Regions from separate parts of the Homo sapiens genome. Here region 1 is linked to region 2. The links are contacts of gene promoters, found by promoter capture Hi-C in blood cells and fetal thymus (Javierre and others, 2016). All regions are on one chromosome and are shown on one strand. The core of a region is centred on a gene start or on the middle of the fragment in contact, and the rest is flanking DNA. Distances in the headings are between cores, read along the strand shown. Region 1 holds the start of SDE2 (spliceosome associated SDE2). Region 2 holds the start of C1orf35 (chromosome 1 open reading frame 35).

Region 1 (5,875 bases), core at 249-2,748, 2.1 Mb after region 2:
CGGAGACTCTCTCTGTCGCCCAGGCTGGAGTGCGATGGCACGATCTCAGCTCACTGCAACCTCTGCCTCCCGGGTTCAAGCGATTCTCCTGCCTCAGCCTCCTGAATAGCTGGGATTACAGACGCGCACCACCACGCCCGGCTAATTATTGTATTTTTAGTAGAGATGGGGTTTCACCATGTTGGTGAGGCTGGTTTCGAACTCCTGACCTCGAGATCCGCCCGCCTCAGTCTCCCAAAGTGCTGGATTACAGGCATGAGCCACCGCGCCCGGCCAGTACAATCTATCTTTATTATTTTTTTTTTTGTAATTTTTATTTATCTACTGGCATCCCCATGGAGGCCCTTTCTCTCCCCAACTTTCCCTCGTGTGTGAAATAAAGACCACTGAATCTATTAACTTCCCAGGCCTTGAAATTCCATTTTCGCACATACTGCCACCGCTAAACGATTTCTGAATTTTTTGTTGTTACCCCCTCAGCTAGGAGTTCCATTTGCCAAGCATTTTAACAGCAGAGAAGGCAATTCTGTGGGCCGATGCATTTGTGTTTAGCAGGCACAGATATCTCCAAATAACCTTCCTATCTTCACACTGGTGGCTTTTGAATTGTTCAGGGTTTTAGAAATACCATAATCTCATTCTGTTAAATATTAAGGGACTCTTTCGGATTCCCTGAGCCTTAAGGTTACGTTATGCAAATCTGTCCGAGTGTGTTTCCATGGTGCAGAATAAAAGTTATGGTAGGGTTTTTTGAAGCAGCATGACTATAAACGTCACTCCTGTCACTGCCTTTCACAAGAGCCCACTTGCTGTGAAATATTTTGAAAACAGAGCTGAAGTGGAGATAACGCAGTGCACAAACAGGCGGAAATAAGAATAAACCGTGCGTGGCAGGCAGAAACCCGGAGGTTGGCTGTTTCTGGAGGGGAAGAGAAGGCTCTGTAAAGCTGGAGGAGAAACCACGCCGGCCACTGTTTAGGGGCCTCCTGGGGGTCGTTTCCCTTGCCCCCTCGGGTTGGGGAGCTCCTCTAGGCCAAGGAAGCGGCCCCCTAAAACCGCTTCCGGGACTGCAGCTTCTCTCCCCACACTCTCAAGGAGCAGAGCCTTCTCGGGCCACAATTCTCCGCGACCCAAAAATAACTACACAGATGTGAGGAAAAGGGCCAAAGCCTACAGCACAAGGTGGTTCTCAGTTAAAGCCTTATCGCTTACGGCCAGGAAGCTCGAAACCTAACCCAGCGCCAGCCTTTTATAGCCGGTCCCTCGAGCCCCGCCCTAGCAACTTCTCCTAGCAACGCCTCGCCCCGTGCTCTGCCGCCTTATCTGCCTCCGCCAGGCCTTTCCTGTTCCCCTCCCCCAGCCCGCACCGCCCCGCCGCCCGGCTCACTTGACCCGCCCCAGGGGAGGGGAGGGGTGAACGGAAGCGTGAGGGGCGGGGCGTTGGAAGATGCTCGCGTCATCAAGAGGCGCCGGGCGAGTTGCGGCGCCTGGTGTCTCAGAGAGGCTTGAGGTTCGGGTAGTCGGTGACATGGCGGAGGCCGCGGCGCTGGTGTGGATTCGCGGCCCTGGCTTCGGGTGCAAGGCGGTGCGGTGTGCCTCGGGTCGGTGCACCGTCCGGGATTTTATCCACCGGCACTGCCAAGATCAGGTGAGGATTTCGGTTCCTGTTAGGAAGGAGAAAGAGGCAGACAGGTGGCAGCGCTGGGTGCGGAGTAGGTCTGTCCGGGGCGGGGGTACGTTTATTCTCTGGGGTTTTCACTCGTTGAGGCTGAGAGTTCCTCAGTGTTAAGGTGCTTCGAATTGTTACTGAGACCTTCCTTTGCTTTTCTTTTGTGGTGGTGGTTTTGCCTTCCCACCAAGAGGGAGAAAAAAACTGTTACAGGCACTTAGTCCCGCTCACAGTTACAAATACTTTGTTTCTCTTTCTTTATCCGTAAATATAATGGTCTTCTGGCAGTTGGGCCGGCTGATTTTTAAGGCTCCAGTCTTCACCTTCTTACTATGGTTATGTGACGTGTATTTTGTCCACTCATCACACAGCCTTGTTAGCCCCAGCCTAGAGAAGTATGTCATATCCAAACCCAGGCCAAAGGATGATTGGGAAGGAAAATTGATTCTTCTGGTCAGTCGTTGTGACCAAGCATTCACACGTGTGTCCTGTTGAGGGCCTGGGTTCTTAGGGCCTGTTACGTAGAAGTGTTCACTATTAATTTGATGGTCTCATTTGTCCGTGCATATTTGTGAAAACCTACCAGGGACTTCCAGAGTTACACGTGAGCTTTTACTGAACTTTCAAGTAAGTAAGCTTTTACCAGCTATAAGATATTAAACCTGTTCAGTTGTCAAAAGAATTTAGTGGTTTCCCTGAATCTAATTTTAATGTTGGCACTTGATCTAGAACTCTGTTCTTTCCGCACCTCATCCGTGCTTTCCTCGGCTATTTCCTCTGCTTACTATTTATAAGCTTAACAAATGTTAACACTGCAGTCTAGACCAAAATTTTAAGAGACTTGGATCGATTCCGTGAAGAAGCAATGTGTGTTTGCAAATAATACGGTTTTTCACTTTCCATGTTTTCCTTCCTGCTCTGTAATCCAGTCTAAAAACTGTAAGCACAACTGTTTTTGACCATGAAAATAATTGCATTCTAATTCCTTTGAAAATAATTCTTATTTCATGAGTACAGTGTTCTTTTCTCCCCCTCCCCCACCCCCGACGGAGTTTGACTCCCGTTGCCCGGGCTGGAGTGCAATGGCGTGATCTCGGCCCACTGCAACCTCCGCCTCGCTGAGTTCAAGCGGTTCTCCTGCCTCAGCCTCCCAAATAGCTGGGATTGCAGTCGCCCGCCACCATGCCTGGCTAATTTTTGTATTTTTAGTAGAGACGGGGTTTCACCACGTTGGCCAGGTCTTGAACTCCTGACCTCGGGTGATCCGCCCACCTCAGCCTCACAAAGTGCTGGGATTACAGGCTTGAGCCACTCCTCCCGGCCTATGAGTACAGTTTTCAAACTTGCTGACAATTGATCCAAAGTGAAACCAGAAAAAATAGGATCTTAATCATGAGGTATGTTGGAAAAAAGAATTTTTAAATCGGAAGCAAGAAATATAGGCCAGGCGTGGTGGCTCACGCCTGTAATTCCAACACTTAGGGAGGTCGAGGCGGGCAGATCACCTGAGGTCAGAAGTTCGAGACCAGCTTGGCAACATGGTGAAACCCCATCTCTCCTAAAAATACACAAAAATTAGCCAGGCGTGGCGGCAGACGCCTGTAATCCCAGCTACCCAGGAGGCTGAAGCAGAAGAATCATTTGAACCTGAGAGGTGGAGGTTGCAGTGAGCCGAGATTGAGCCATTGCACTCCAAACTGGGTGACAGAGCAAGACTCGGTCTGAAAAAGTATATATAAAGAAATATAAATGAGTGGATTCAGTCAGAAACTTAAGGAACATGACCATAGCAAATATGAATAGAAACACAAAAGAATATTAGTTGAGATACTGGAACAAGTAAGAATAGCTCAAGTTCACACCTATGTTTTTAAAAACAAAACTATTCTGAGACATGATGAAGTTAGTGTTAACTCCCACTGAGAAAATAAAAATCTGCCCTGCTTTTCATCAGGCTGGGATAACAGACACAGATAAAGCCAGCTGCAAAGTTTTTGTTTTTTGTTTTTGTTTCCCCCACACTACACCGATGTACAGCTGCAGAGTTAACAGGAAATGGTGATGTGTCATAATGTCATAACGACCCCCACGAAGGTCTGCTGCTTTCTTATTCACTGAGAAACCTTGGTCTCAAAAACCATAGAATATATAAGAAATTTTGCTGTTTAAAGTTCTCTCAATAAGAGGGAACCTTCCCACTCTTGCCTTGTAGAGAAGCATTCTTGATTTCCAACCCAGGTCAGAGCTTCCCATTAAGGGTTTCTGGACACAACTTTCCACATTTATCTTAAATTTGTAGTTTCCAAGGAAAGAGGAGCCTTCACAATCCAGATCTGATGTTGACGTTTTTATATACAGTCCTGCTTTATTTTGAACCTTTTTAAACACTGCTTGATGTAAATTTCACCTCAACTCCACCCTAGCCCCAAATCTTGTAATGACACTCCTTTCTTTGGGTTGGTGAGATACCCATGACTCCTGGTGTGCAGTTCCCCTCGTTGCAGTGAATCAGTAAGTTTGACAGGTTTATCTCTGATAGCCTTAGGCTGGTTGTGCTAAAACACACATGATAATTTGTGTTTGAAGCACTTTACAATGCACAAATGGTTAAAAGCAGTTAAATTGAGTCTAAATGTTGTATCCTTTTTTCTGCTTGTGACTTCATTGACAAGAATCTTAAGTAGAAAATGCAATTTTGTTGATCAGTTGTTTTGTTTAATAAGCCATTCTGTTTGGAAATGAAGTATACATCATTTTCATGGTGTATACTTTCTGCCTTCATATTAATATCTTTTAAAATTATTTAGAAATACCATACCCATTAGACATACAAAAGGCTTCTAATGTGTAAACATTAAACAGATACAAAATGTATTACATATCTCATTTAATGTTTACAACAGCTCTTTGAGGTAGACAGTATTTTAAAGACAAGAATAGTCGTTCATGTTACCTCATTGCAGATAGCCTGAGCTCCCTTGCTCCTCTCTCCCGCCATTATATTTGTCTGGGAGAACCCCAGACAGCATAAATCCATCTCTCCACCTGTTCTGCCCTGGCATCTGGGCAGTGACTGTGATAGAGAACTATAATCACATAGCTCAGTCTCCATACATCCACCAGCCTGGTGCTGCTTGGTAATTCTGTATTTCCTTGGTCCAGAGTGGGCTTTTACTGGGTTACAGGACTGCTTAGAGTATTGATTCATGTAGGCTCTGGGGCAGCTACACAGAATCTGGGGCTGCCCAGCATCTTAGGCTATCTTCAGCAACTTTGCTCATTTTTGCTCATTTTTCATGTATTTATGTCTCCTATGGTGTACTTATATAGGTGTATTAAAAACCACACTCTTGACTCCTTCCTTCTCTACTTCTTATTCCTACCTGCACTTTTTAGGATTGAGGACTACTTTTGATGTTCAATTTAATTTTACCTGTTTAAGAAAGTCAGAAAATGGGACCTCCACAGTTATTTAATCTGAGTCCTGCATAGTCTTCTACCTTGACTCAGATTACCTATCAGAGAAGAAGAAGCAGTTTTTGTTGTCACCGCAAAGACTGAAGTTTCTTCTATATGTGATGATTAGGTAATATTGGGAAAAAATTATACCCAAAATGCATCATGTGAAATGACTTTTTCTCCTAGTAGTTTACATTTTCAATTCAACAAATATTAATTGAACACCCTCTGTTGTAACCAGAGTAATAAAAAGACAGCTAGGTCCCTTCTTGTAACAAACTTAGATTATTATCTCATAAAAGGCATTAAAAAAACAAATTTGTCTCTAGAATGTTCCAGTGGAAAACTTCTTTGTGAAATGCAATGGAGCACTCATTAACACCAGTGACACAGTGCAGCATGGAGCTGTTTATAGTTTGGAACCCAGACTTTGCGGTGGAAAAGGAGGTAGGACCTGAACATTGACTACTTAGTTGTAACACATTTGCAGTCTTTATTCATTTATTTTCATATTCTGCTGCTGACATTTGCTGTCTTTAGCCATGGTATTAAATTAACAACCTTCTTAGTCTCTTTAGTATGCCAATATTGTTTTACCTTATGAATTCTTTTATTTACTTAACCTGATTTTGGACATTTTCTCTCTTATTCTTTTGTTTTCTTTCTTTTGAGACACTGCCTTGTTTTGTCGCCCAGGCTGGAGTACAGTGGTACGATCACGGCTCACTGCAGCTTTGACCTCCTGAA
Region 2 (5,170 bases), core at 2,303-4,802:
GCCAGGCTGCGGAAGCGTGAGGCTCAGCTCCAGTCGAGGAAGGAGTACGAGCAGGAGCTCAGTGATGACTTGCATGTGGAGCGCTACCGACAGTTCTGGACCAGGACCAAGAAGTGACCGTGGCTCCAGCCACCCCGGGACATTGCTAAGATGGGAGGGCTGTTCTTAAATCACTCGTTCTTGAAGCTGCCACCTGGAGTCTGTGTCTGTCTCCCCACTTGGTGTGTGCCCCAGACTGGCAGCTCATCCCCTGAAAGGCATCAGCTCAAGCACAGAGAGAGCTCAGTGGACTAGCAGGGTGAGGGTTGGTGTAGATCAAACCTGTGGGTTTTGGACACTGCTCTGGGGCTGTGGTGCACGTGGACAACCATGTGGGCAGTACCCAACACCACCAAGCTCTAAGCTCTGCCCTCCCAGCCTCAGGGGCACCAAGGTGACTGCCCTTCTGACAGCACAGTGGCCCTCAGGTTGGTTCCTAGGAGGGGCTGGGTGTTCTGGGACTCAGGCATCAACCTTGGTGGGGCAGTCCTAGGACCATCTGGACCACAGCCTGCAGCTCCCTGCCCTGGCCCTGCATTCCCAGGCTGCCCCAGGGAAGGTCCTGCCCTGGGAGGGTCCCCAGAGGAGCAGCCAGCCCTGGTTGTCCTTGACTCTTAATGGGGTCTGCAGAGCACTGCAGTTACACACAGCCCAGGGAGATCCACGGACCCTGCTTCATCTGTCCAGAGGCTGATTTAACTCAGGACCAGCTCCAGCTAATGTGCAGGCACCTTCCACACGCACAACAACCCAGGTTTTGGACAGCTCAGGGCCCAGACTGCTTCCTGTCCCTGTCCTGGGATGTTACTGGGTCCCACCTGGCAGGCTGTCTCTCTGACACCTGGAGTGCCCGACAAAGACTTCTTGCAGTGGTGTTCTGGGATTGCCAGGGAGGTGTGGGAGTGTGTTCTGTCATGCCCCTGTGATGACAGTGCTTATAACTGAGGAGCCTGGGCAGTGTCCCCACCTTGCAGGCCCATCCCTTGCCCCTTAAGCTTGTTCCTGGCCCTCTGCTCATCCCGCTGGCCTTCAGCTCTGCTGAGAAGAGCCTGCAAGGGATGTCCTCTGGCCCTGCCCCTGTCCTTGTGACCGAGCAGTGCCTGACCTCACGTGGATGGGCTGTGTGGCTGCCTGGGACTCTGCCTTGCAGGGTTACTTCCTGAGCAGCCTCCCTGGAGCCCCCGTCTCTGAAGTTGTGGCTCAATCCCTGTGGCATATAGAGCCAGCTGCCCGGCCACTCTGTGCACTCACTTGGCCCCCCCCCTCCACTACCCAGCCTCCTCCCACTATAGTGGGTTCCCCTGGGATCTCCACTGCCCCTCCACTCCCTGACCGCCACCCTCCTGGGTCCAGCTTCGCTGCTGTCACAGAGGACACCACTGTGACCAGTGCCCCCAGCTGGGCCTCCACCCAGCAGGCACAGGCCATGCAACCTCCACCCTGGTGACCCCTCCTCCTGTGGCCTACGGCTTGTCAGGCTAATGGGCTCAAAACTGACCAGGTCTTCCCCACAAACCTGGTCCTCATGTTGACAGGTGGCTGCTTCATCCTCACAGTTGCCCAGACCAGAGCCTCAGAGCCGTCCTGGACTCCTGCCCAATGTCCACCTGGCCCTGCTATCCCCTCTCCACCACACCTGACATCCAGTCAGTGGTCAGACTCCACAGCTGGGCCCTGCCCACATGGCCCAAGTCCACCCTGGCCTGGCAAGCTGCAATGGCACCCAGGAGATGATGCCCTACACCCCAGGGAGCCTTCCTGGGAGTCGGCCAGTCACCTTCTGTGTGCCTGGCTGTGGCCTGCTGCTCTGCCCTCGCCATGCACCTGCTCCATGATGAAAGCTCATGCAGTGCCTCATGAGGGAGATGGCAGCCAGTACTTGCTAAGTAGATAGATGAGCCAGACGTGTGGCTGTCTGCCAGCCTGCTCTAACAGCCTGACCCATGGACTGGGTCACTAAGAAACAGAAATTTCCCACAGGACAGTAGACCTGTATTTCATCCAGTTCAACCTGTGGCTGGAATTGCCCCAAAAGTGGTGGCAGTAGAGTTCCCACAAGGGAGTGCCCCACACCATCCTGAGATGGGGCTGGTTAGGATTCTACAGATTGAGCATGCCAGGGTGATTCGCCCAGAGCATTTATTCGTGGGGCTTTTGTACAGAGTGGGCTGCAGCAGTTCTTGCAATAGGCAGTGAGAGAAATGAAGTTCTCTCTAGGTATGTCCGTGGGGGAGGGGGTTGGTGAATGGAATTTATATGAGGGTTTGAGGAATCTGGCTCAGGCTGAGTCCAGTTTCTTTCTGTGTTTTGAGCAACAACCTAGTTACTGTCATCTGTGCCTGGGAACGTTCATGGCTATGGCTCGGGTTCAAGTCTGCAGAGGAAATTATACAGTTGGCGAAGTCACAGAGTGGCCAAGGGACTCTGTTTCTCAGTCAGCACTGGGAATGAAAGTGGAAAGGGGAAGCAGGGGTACGTCACAACCTCCAAAATCAGGGTGCCCAGCACGCTGAGGTTCTGGTAAGGGGTTTCTTCCAGACTGCAGACTTCCTTCCCGCTGCCTTCACACAGTAGAAAGCTGCACAAAGCTCTTGGGGTCCCTTTTATGAAGGCTCTGTCCTCATGACCTAGTCACCTCCGAAGCACCAACGCCTTGGGGTGAGGATTTCACATGGGAGTTAGGGTGCACATTCAGTTTAACACGGCAGGGATAGGACCAGTGCTCTGAGGGTGTCTGGGTAGCTGCTGGTTCATCCAGAAGTTTACTGGGTAATACTCAGAAATTCCACAAATCATTAAGGTCATTACCTTGTTAAGCTCCCGATATGGAATCGCGACTAGCAGTGACCAATTGGCGGTGTTAACTAGGCGCATCTTGTGTGTTTTCTTTTTTCTTTTTTTATGAGACAGGGTCCGCTCACTCGTTCAGGTTGGAGTGCAGTGGCGCGAAGTCCTGGGTTCGAGATCCTCCCGCCTCAGCCTCAAAGCGTTGGGGCTACAGGGGCGCGCGCGCGCCTGGCCCATTTTAACTTCTTATTTTTGAGACAGTCTCGCTCTGTCGCCCAGGCGGGAGTGCAGTGGCGCGATCTCGGCTCACTGCAACCTCTGCCTCCCGGCTCAAGTGATTCTCCTGCTTCAGCCTCCTGAGTAGCTGGAATTACAGGTGTGCACCACCACACCCGGCTAATTTTTGTATTTGAGTAGAGACCGGGTTTCACCATGTTGGACAGGCTAGTCTCGAACTCCCGACCTCAAGCGATCCGCCCGCCTCGGCCTCCCAACTTGCTGGGATTACAGGCGAGAGCCACTCCGCCCGGCCCCGTTTTAACCATTTTTAAACTTCCAGTTCAGAGGCGTTCCCGCGCCCGGCAGGGTAGGCGCAGTGCGCAGGCGCCCAAAGCCGACGTGGAGGTGATGCGCGGGAGCACAGATCCGGGGCAGTGCGCTGCGCAGAGGCGCGCGGCGAAGCCGAGTGGGCGCGGGAGTGACGTCACGGCGCGCGACGCGGAGGCGGGGTCGGGCCTGGGTCCGACGGTAGTGGGTAGCGGGTCTCGGGTTGCGGGTTGCAGGTTGCAAGCCGCAGGCCCCAGGCAACTGCCTTCCCGGCGCCATGTTCGGCTCCAGTCGTGGAGGCGTGCGCGGCGGGCAGGACCAGTTCAACTGGGAGGACGTGAAGACTGACAAGCAGCGGGAGAACTACCTGGGTGGGTGCGCGCGGTGGGCGGGCTCCGGGCTCCGGGCTCCGGGATCCCGGGCGGGCGCTGGACTCACAGCGTCTACGTCCGCAGGCAACTCGCTGATGGCGCCGGTAGGCCGCTGGCAGAAGGGCCGCGACCTCACCTGGTACGCCAAGGGCCGGGCGCCATGCGCGGGCCCGAGCCGCGAGGAGGAACTGGCAGCCGTGCGGGAGGCGGAGCGCGAGGCGCTGCTGGCCGCCCTGTGAGTGTCCGCGGACGGCAGCGGTCGGTGCCTGGGACGGCGCTGCCGGGGCAGGGTGGGGCCGGGGCCGGGGACTGGGGGTCGGGCTGGGCGGGAGCGGGGCTGCGGGGACTCGCGCGGGCGGGACCCTGAGGACGAAGGCTGGAGTGGTGAGGACCTGTGGTGGGAGGAGGTCCGTCCGTCCTGACGCCTGCCCCGGCCCTCTCGCAGTGGCTACAAGAACGTGAAGAAGCAGCCCACGGGCCTGAGCAAGGAGGTAACTCCCCGGGGTGGGGGGCGCGTGGAGGGCCGTGGGTGTGGGGCCGACTCGAGCGCTCCCTGTGCTCTCGCACCTGCAGGACTTCGCGGAGGTCTGCAAGCGGGAAGGAGGCGACCCCGAGGAGAAGGGCGTGGACCGGCTGCTGGGGCTGGGGAGCGCAAGGTGCGGGCGGGTTTCCAGGGGAGGGCAGCACTGGGCTCGATTGCTCGGGTGAGGCGGACCCCTGCCGTACTGTCTTCATCGCCATGTCCCTGCAGTGGCTCCGTGGGCCGCGTGGCGATGTCCCGAGAGGACAAGGAGGCCGCCAAACTGGGGCTGTCTGTGTTCACGGTAATCCCCCGCCCCGCCTGACCGCAGCAGGGGCTAACAGGGGTGGGGCGGGGCGGGGGCACTGAACGGAGCTCCCCGGGGCGCTGCGGGGCGTGGTGTGGGGCCGGCCCGCAGACTCCTCCGCAGAGCTCGCTTCTCCCGCAGCATCACCGCGTAGAGAGCGGCGGGCCCGGGACCTCGGCAGCCTCGGCCAGGAGGAAGCCGCGGGCGGAGGATCAGACGGAAAGCAGGTGAGGCTGTGCCACCTGGGCTAGCTGTGCCCCGGGGTGGGGGGTCTCGGGAGGACCGGAGCGGCTCCCACTCGGGCAGGTGGCAGCTTCTCTTGGCGCACCGGCCCGGCGGGTGGCCTGCCCTACTTTACTTCCTGTCCCAGTTACTCCTAGGTTTTTCTCTAGGGGAGTTTCTCGGGTCACCCTTGAAGAGAGGTCCTAAGTACTGGCAGTGGTCGGGCGCTGTGCCGTGGGAGGGCACTCAGGACCTGGGGCGGGGCCTTTTCCTGCCGTGGGTGGCACCTCCAGGGCTTCTCCTGGATGGTGAGCCTGGGCCTGACCCTAAGAGTGGCCTGGTGGGTGCAGGTAGGAAGGTGTCAACCTGCCAAGGGCA

Evidence for each region. The method cuts DNA at HindIII sites, captures the fragments that hold promoters and counts their contacts. A CHiCAGO score of 5 or more calls a contact.
Region 1: a contact is called between the fragment with the promoter of SDE2 here and the fragment with the promoter of C1orf35 in region 2, in 1 of 17 cell types (neutrophils). The highest score is 6.7, in neutrophils.

What each region holds. Positions count from the first base shown.
Region 1 is chr1:225,994,966-226,000,840 of GRCh38, reverse strand. SDE2 (spliceosome associated SDE2) reads left to right here and starts at 1,498. Exons shown (of 7, transcript NM_152608.4): 1 at 1,498-1,648; 2 at 5,458-5,575. The coding sequence starts at 1,529. RefSeq lists enhancers at 614-663, 744-843, 864-1,013, 1,534-1,643, 3,657-3,746 and 1 more and a silencer at 1,194-1,473. The HindIII fragment of the contact is 16,010 bases long and covers 1-2,307 here.
Region 2 is chr1:228,101,707-228,106,876 of GRCh38, reverse strand. It overlaps C1orf35 (chromosome 1 open reading frame 35), which reads left to right and starts at 3,552. Exons shown (of 8, transcript NM_024319.4): 1 at 3,552-3,743; 2 at 3,828-3,978; 3 at 4,189-4,234; 4 at 4,317-4,399; 5 at 4,495-4,567; 6 at 4,712-4,797. The coding sequence starts at 3,650. MRPL55 (mitochondrial ribosomal protein L55) reads left to right here. Exons shown (of 5, transcript NM_181463.3): 5 at 1-192. The coding sequence ends at 117. RefSeq lists enhancers at 2,625-3,344, 3,345-4,065, 4,066-4,785, 4,786-5,170 and silencers at 3,788-4,057, 4,218-4,387, 4,638-4,717. The HindIII fragment of the contact is 8,620 bases long and covers 1,037-5,170 here.